Regions from separate parts of the Homo sapiens genome. Here region 2 is linked to region 1. Evidence: promoter capture Hi-C in 16 types of primary human blood cells and fetal thymus (Javierre and others, 2016). All regions are on one chromosome and are shown on one strand. Each heading gives the region's core, a stretch centred on a gene start or on the middle of the fragment in contact. The rest is flanking DNA. Distances are from core to core; before and after follow the strand shown.

Region 1 (3,713 bases), core at 333-2,832:
ATCCTGGGTTCTCTAGCGTGAAAAAGTCAAGGTAAAAAACATGGTAACACAAGTAAGGGAACTGGGACGGACGCCTTTTTTAAAAATCAAAAGGTCATCTTTTATGCCGCAGAGCAAACTTATGACCTTATGAGGAGAAAAGAAAATCAAAATACTTGGGAGGTGGGGATGAACATCGGGTTAGTTTGCATTCTTGCTTTTATTTTAACAGCATCACACGTATTCCCCCCCGGAACACTGAAGAGCGCATAGGGCAGATAGGTAGATGGGGCTGTGTCAACACCTCAGTCACAGCCCACAGACCCTCTGTGCCTCAGTTTCCCTCATTATACAAAGCTCCTGGGAGAAAATGGGCCCAAACCGCCATTGCTGCTCCCTCAGGTGCAAACATCCCGTCTCCAACATAGCCCAGGGCTGGGGGGTCCTCTGCGCCCGGTGAACGAAACCCCAGGACAAGGGCCATGCATGCAACTCCGTGGCTAGAGAGCCCGTGGCGCGGGTAGGAACAGCTGGCTGGAGGGTCGAGTGTACCAAAAAGAACTCCGCAACCCGGGGCGACCACCAGCGAAGCAGGGGCGCCGGAGCCACGGGTCCTCGGGCGAGAACAGGGGACAGACGGGAAGGGGACAATGGGGGGAAGCGGCGCTGGGTGGCCTTGGCCACCCCCCACAGGGGACTGCTAGGCTGGCCGCTGGCTCGGACCAGACCCCCCTCCACCCCTTCCCCTCGGTCCCCCCACCCCGCTGCCAGCCACCCCCCCGTCCCACTTCTAGGCCGGGACCCCCGCCTCGGTTCTCACAGCACCCTCCACGCCCCCCACCCGACCCCCATGCCCGGCCCTCGCCCCGCAACCCCCACCCACGCTCGCCCCGCACACACCTCCCGCGCCGCGCCCCCGGGAGGAAAGTGGGGGAGGGACGGGACGCACCTGAGCGGGCGGAGCGGGGGGAGGGGGCGGCCGAGCCACGGGGGGAGGGGTCGAGCGCCGGCCCGCGCGCGGCACCTCCCACTTCCGGCGGCACGAGCGGAGGGGGCGAGGCTCCGGCCGCGAGAGGAGAGGCCGCGGTGGCGCCGCGCCGCCCCCGACGGCGCCCTCTGGCGGCGACAGCTGGCGCCGCCGGGGCACGGGGATGCTGCGGGAGACCCCTGAGATACAAGTGGACTCTCCCGGGGCGCGGGGAAGAAGGGAGAGCCGACTGCGAGAAGGAAGGCGACCTGGGTGGGCAGGATCCCCTCTGGGAAGATTACAGGGACAGTCGGGGCCATGGCGGTCAGAAGGAGAAGAGCAACGAGTGGCTTTTAAAGGTCGGAACCGAAATGCCCTTTACAGAGGACGCCATGAAGGAGAGCCTTCTGAAGAGGGACCATGTGGAAGATGCCCCGAGGACTCGGGGAGGCGGAGCCCGCGGGTTCAGCCCCCAGCGCCCGCACGGCCCCTGCCTGCGTAGGCCGCCCGCGGGAGCCGGACCCCGGGCGCCGGTTGCTGTGGCCCGCGGGGGTCGCCGGGCCGCAGGCGCCGCGCTGATTGGCTGCGCCGCGGGCGGAAGTGATGCTGCTGTCACTGCTCCTCCGGCTCCCGGGAAGCCGCGAGTTTCCGCAGGGAGGCGGCGGCAGCTGCGGCGGGGCCGGTGAGTTGGGAACTAGGTGTGGGGCTGGACCTGGGTGGTCAGGGGGCCCCAGAAGTGGGGGAAGCCGGCGTCTGAGGATGAGGGAGCTGCACAGAGGGTGCCTGAGGTCCTGGCGTGGGGGACCAAGGAGATGGGGCCCCAGGGCCCAGAATTCCTGGATAATGTGGGTGCTAATGAGGAGAGGGGCACATTGCACGGAGCGATCGAGGCCGACGGAGGGAGAATCGGGAAACTGACCCGGTACCCAAGCTGGCTTCTAGGAGCCGGGTGTGGAACAGCGAGGACAGTAGCTTGGGAGCAGGATCTTGGACTCCAGGCTGCCCATTCTCTTCTTCCTTGTCAATTAAGAGCTGTAAAGGGAGGCCTAGCCGTTGGGAGAGGTTGAGACCTGCTTTCAGAAGGCATTTAAGGTTCCTTTCCCAGAAGCCTGGGGGATAAAAATGCTGCTTTGCCACTAGTAGACAGAAGGAGCTCCTGCTTCTCTTTCTTCCTGACATCTGTGGTGGGATCTACTGAGTCTGAAGGAGTCTGCCTAGCGGGGCCACTGTCTGGCTAACAAGGGTTTTGTTTGTTAGTTTGTTTACTTAGTAGAGTATGCAGACTGGGGAAGACACCTAAATATCTTGGGAGAATTGAGGCTCCCGGGGGCAGGGAGGGATTGAGAGGGAATATGCCTGGAAACCTAAGAGAAAACGAGAGGAAGAAATGTAGTATGAAGATTTTTAGAGGTAAAGGAGAGGTGGCATAAGTTCTCCTTTCCAGGAAGCCTTTCAGTAAAATTCCCATTTTTCTGGAATGCTTTGAGGTAGAGCCGCTTGGGTGTGTATCTGAGTACTAAGCCCTGCCCCAGGGTGGACCCAGTGGAGAGCAAAGGCTTTTAAAGGAGCCCAGCCACCATAGGTACACACATGTCCTGCCACCCCATTTGTCTGTCCCCCAGTTCTAACTTGGCTCTTTTTTTTTTTTTTTGAGGGCTCCTGAGACCAATTCCCTGGTTCTGTCAAACCCAGGCAATTGGAGTCCCAGTCTGGAGTCTGAGTCCTCACCTTGAAGCCAGCCTCCTGAGCTCAGTACAGGAGTAGCTGCTTAGTGAGGTTCTCTCATCATTCGTTCTCTCCTGGTTGCCCGCTTGTCCTTGGTGCCTGTTCTGTTTTGTTTGCACTCTCTGGCTTTCCCCGTTTCGCCCCCGCCGCCTCCCTCCTTTCACTTTCCCTGGTATCCTTCTGGGATATACAAATCAAGAAGTTAGCTACCACCTGGACTTCTAGGACGTTATTACCTACTCTTTCAAGAGGCATTTTGGTAACTGTTTTTTGCTAGGCCTCTGGGGAACAAAATGAAAAGAGGGTGGCACGATAGCACAGGAAGTGGGTTTTTTGGGTGTTATACTGATTTGGCCTCACCGTACCAGTTCTGCTCCAGTCTATGACCGATTTTAGATCTTTGGAAATGACAATTAATGAAGTTTCTTTGGTCCCTGGTCCTGGAGTTTATCTAACCTCAGCTTGTTGCCCTGGGATTGGTGGGACATTATTTCTTCTGTTCTTGGATCCCACAGGTCTGTAGCCTTTGCTGAGTCAACACTACTCACAGTGAAAGTGATGCCTTTTCTCCATTTGCACAACATGAGTGTGACGTGGTTAGCCAGACCAGGAGCTCAACCTCATGTAGAATCCAGGTGGGCACGGGGCCCTGTTATGGGGAATTAGCCTTGAGGACAACTGGACTGAGGAGTCAGCTAGGGAAAGATTTATGTCCCCTCTAAATGTAGGGGTGAAGGGGTTGTCTCTGCTAAAGAACAGTCACGATGCAGCCAGTAGTTTGTGGAAGCGATGTGTGCTTTGAGCCCTGTGGGTGGCAACAGGGGTTGCTCGCAGTGCCTGTGAGCAACTGGACCTCCTGCTGGATTAGCTGGTGTCGTGAGGATTGGCTGTCTTGCTGTGGGAGGCCATCCGCTGGTGTTAGTGCTGGCCCACACTCCACCTGGGGGCTTATCCCTGTTGGTCAGGGATAAATGTGAACAAAAAGAGAAGATCAAATGTTTCACAATTTAAAAGGCATGGCTTAGGGACTTCCAGGGGGAAC
Region 2 (3,713 bases), core at 608-3,107, 530 kb after region 1:
CCCTCCGGGTCAGCGGACTCTTAATTCCATTTTCCTCGCGTGACCCAGCAACGCAGGGCAGTTCAGCAGACATTTATGGAGAACCTTCTACGGGTCAGGGCCTGAGCTAGGTGTAGGGGTTTGGACGGGGGCTCTGGCTTTGTTCCTGAGAGGGTGCAATCTTAAATCTCCCGTGTGGACCTGAGGCTCCCAGCTGTACCCCACATCACCATGCCCACCACCATGGCAGAGAAGCAAGAAGTTTCTAATCACCAGCGTTGGGAAAAGAGGACACAGCAGCCTGACCCAGGAGTGACATTTAGACAGAGAAAGTCCCTTCCCTTTCTTTTTTTCTTTTCTTTTCTTTTCTTTCTTCTTTTTTTTTTTGAGACGGAGTTTCGCTTTTGTTGCCCAGGCTGGAGTGCAGTGGCGCAATCTCGGCTCACTGCAACCTCCGCCTCCCGGGTTCAAGCGATTCCCCTGCCTCAGCCTCCCAAGTAGCTGGGATTTCGGGTGCCTGCCACCATGCCTGACTAATTTTTTGTATTATTAGTAGAGATGGGGTTTCACTATGTTGGCCAGGCTGGTCTGGAACTCCTGACCTTAGGTGAACTACCTGCCTCGGCCTCCCAAAGTGCTGGGATTATAGTCATGAGCCACTGCGCCTGGCCGTCCCTTCCCTTTCAAGCAGGAAAATCTAAAATTCCATGAACAGTAGGGTCAGATACCCACAAGTCATGGTAGGGACAAGAAGAGTTGGGTAGTTCTATGGGATCAAAGAATCTAGTTTAAAAAAAAAGGTGTTCTCTGTGTGTATGTCATGATTTAATCCTACTGGTTTATGCTCGGGTTAAATCCCCACTAACCTTAGGGTATGTGAGGTGTTTCTCTGGAGCACAAGACTGGCTGTTTCAAACACTTGGTCATTTGCTGGGGCCAGATGCTTTGGCCTCTGGTGCAAGGCCTTTCCGAATCCCGCCTCAGTCTACCTTCACAGCTTTATTTCCCCCTGCTCCTGCCCCAGCCCCTCAAGTCAGGCTACCTAGGCCCACCAACTTCTGTTCTGCAGCTGTGCCTGGGACCTCAGTGCCCTTTTCCAGCCCAGAACTTGGCTTGCCTCAATCTACTTATGCTTCTAGGCCTGGCTCCAGTGGGACTTCTTCCGTGAAGCTTTCTTTGATTATCCAGCCCTTCCTGATTCTTCCCGAGCAACGAATGACTCCCTTTCCTGTGCTTCACTGCCTTTGGCAGGTCCTTTGTGACAACCTGAGGCCTCGTGGTATGGTTTCAAAGCTGCTCCTGGAACCCTTCCTCACTAGCTTGTGAGCTCTCGAAGGCCTGGGTCTGGGTCTTACTCATCTATGACCTGCTCCCTCCCCCAGCATCATTCCCTCACCCAGGAGCTGCTCCAGGATTGAAAGGAGATAGTGTACGTGAAATTGTTTTGTAAAATACAGCACAATGCAATATTGCTACTGCTAAAACTGAAAAGAGTTTATTGAATCAAAACCCTAGGAAATAAAGGAAGCTCATCTTAACAACCCCCTACTTCTACATTATTTTCATTAACCATGTAAAATTACAATAATAACAATAGCTAACATGTATTGACCTTTTGTGCCCAATAAATATGGTCATTATTATAATAAGCATACAGACATGTGTACATGCTACATACACCTTTCAATTTCTGCACATTAAGAAGTGATCGGCTGGGCACAGTGGCTCATGCCTGTAATCCCAGCACTTTGGGAGGCGGAGGTGGGCAGATCACCTGAGGTCAGGAGTTCGAGACCAGCCTGGCTAGTGTGGTGAAACCCCTTCTCTACTAAAAATGCAAAAATGAGCTGGGCATGGTGGTGGGTGCCTGTAATCCCAGCTACTCGGGAGGCTGAGGCAGGAGAATCACTTGAGCTGGAGAGATGGAGGTTGCAATGAGCCGAGATTGCGCCACTGCACTCCAGCCTGGGTGACAAGAGCGAGACTCCGTCTCAAAAAAAAAAAAAAGTGATTATTAAGACAATATTGAAAATAATGCCACGAATCTTCAAATGTGCTTCAAGAGATTCTCAACCAAATGTCCTCCACAAGTGTCTCTGTGACCTCCTGTTCTCAAGGGCCTATGTGGATGGAGTCTATGGCTGTGAGGTGTCCCGGCCAGGTCAGGAGCTGACCCCCGGCCTAGCAAGATACTCCGTGCTTCTTACAACATTTCCTGCCTTCCTAGAGCAGTACCCAGAAGGCATCTTGTCCTTGTCTTGTGGGGTGGTGGGTGGCGCACCTCGTGGGGCATGCTCATGGTGGGCACCACACATGGGCGTCTTAAAGAGGAGTGTGTGTCTCTGTAAGGCTATCATAAGCGTTTTTATTTCAAGTCTGAGTGACACATTTTTGTCCTTTTGGCATTTATGGAGGATAGAAAAAACTGCTCTGAGTAAATAAACAGAGAAGAAGAAAGGCCTCCCTCCATGATGGGCCTGGTTTACGAGGCAACAAGCCTGGGGGGTCTTTGTTAGGGTTTAGTGATTTGGTTCCAGCACTGAATGGAAGCACAATCTTGTTTTTGAGTCGTTTCAGAAAGCTTGGGCTCCTCAGCTTCTGAGTTGTAACATTTGGAGGTTGTGATCTGCATTTTGGGTATGTGTCTGGGGGTGTCCCTGTGAGTACACAGGTGGGCATAGGTGTGTCAGGGAGATATGGGTCTGTGCATGCATGCGGTGAATGGAGTACATGCCCCACCTGAGCAGTGTCTGTACAGTAGGGGGGTGCGTATAGATAAGGTGATTGGGGTGAATGTGGATCTTTCTGGGTGTCAATCTTATATACTATGTGTGAATAAGCATTTATATGCAGGAGTCTTTTTTTTTTTTTTTTTTTTTTGAGACAGAGTCTGGCTCTGTTGCCCAGGCTGGAGTGCCATGGCGCGATCTCGGCTCACTGCAACCTCCACCTCTCAGGTTCAAGCAATTCTACTGCCTCAGCCTCTCGAGTAGCTGGGAGTACAGGCTCAAGCCATCACGCCCAGATAATTTTTGTAATTTTAGTAGAGACGGGGTTTCACTATGTTGGCCAGGCTGGTCTGGAACTCCTGACCTCAAGTGATGCCCCCACCTCTGCCTCCCAAATTGCTGGGATTACAGGCATGAGCCACCGCACCCAGCCCCAGGGGTCTGTATTTTTGTCATCGAATGTTGTTAGTGCCTTGGAAGCTCCCTGTGCCACCCCAACCCCCAACTATGACCCTTCCTTCATTGCCCCTGAGTTAACCACTCTCCTAACTTTTGTGTGAATCATTCCCCTCCTTTGTGTTATGGCTGTGCCACTTTCATGTGTCTCCTTGGTGAAAATGGGTCCACAGATGTGAAGCTGGGATGTATTTGGTGTGAATGCGGGTCTGAGTTGTGTTCACAGTGGAGCCTGGATGTGCTCTGCTCAGCGAGTGCCTCTGTTTGGGTGGATGGGTGGCAGAGGGTTGGGGAAGAGCGGTTGGGCTCTTCAGACAGGTCCCCGTGAACTTTGCATACCCAGCTCCTGTGGCTCCTTCTGGCTCGGTTGCCACCTCTGGTCCCTAGTGGTTCTGCCTTGCTGGTCTGCAGAGAGATCAACACCCTTCAAACCAGCTGCCTTGTTGGCTGCGGCGCACTCCCGCGGTTACCATGGAAACCAAAGTAGGTCTGCTTCTGCCTGCCATCGGGTCCCTGGGCTAGGGCAGCTGTGGGCCAAAGCCACCGTGG

The links. The method cuts DNA at HindIII sites, captures the fragments that hold promoters and counts their contacts. A CHiCAGO score of 5 or more calls a contact.
Region 2: a contact is called between a fragment that was not itself captured here and the fragment with the promoter of PCSK7 in region 1, in 1 of 17 cell types (fetal thymus). The highest score is 5.9, in fetal thymus.

Annotation. Positions count from the first base shown.
Region 1 is chr11:117,229,942-117,233,654 of GRCh38, reverse strand. PCSK7 (proprotein convertase subtilisin/kexin type 7) reads left to right here and starts at 1,582. Exons shown (of 17, transcript NM_004716.4): 1 at 1,582-1,628; 2 at 3,187-3,306. RNF214 (ring finger protein 214) reads right to left here and starts at 984. Exons shown (of 15, transcript NM_207343.4): 1 at 929-984. RefSeq lists silencers at 845-1,184, 1,395-1,544 and enhancers at 1,735-1,784, 2,654-2,893. The HindIII fragment of the contact is 17,537 bases long and covers 1-3,713 here.
Region 2 is chr11:116,703,522-116,707,234 of GRCh38, reverse strand. No RefSeq gene overlaps it. Among named protein-coding and RNA genes, the nearest start is that of LINC02702, 66 kb to the right of the region's middle. The HindIII fragment of the contact is 1,411 bases long and covers 1,152-2,562 here.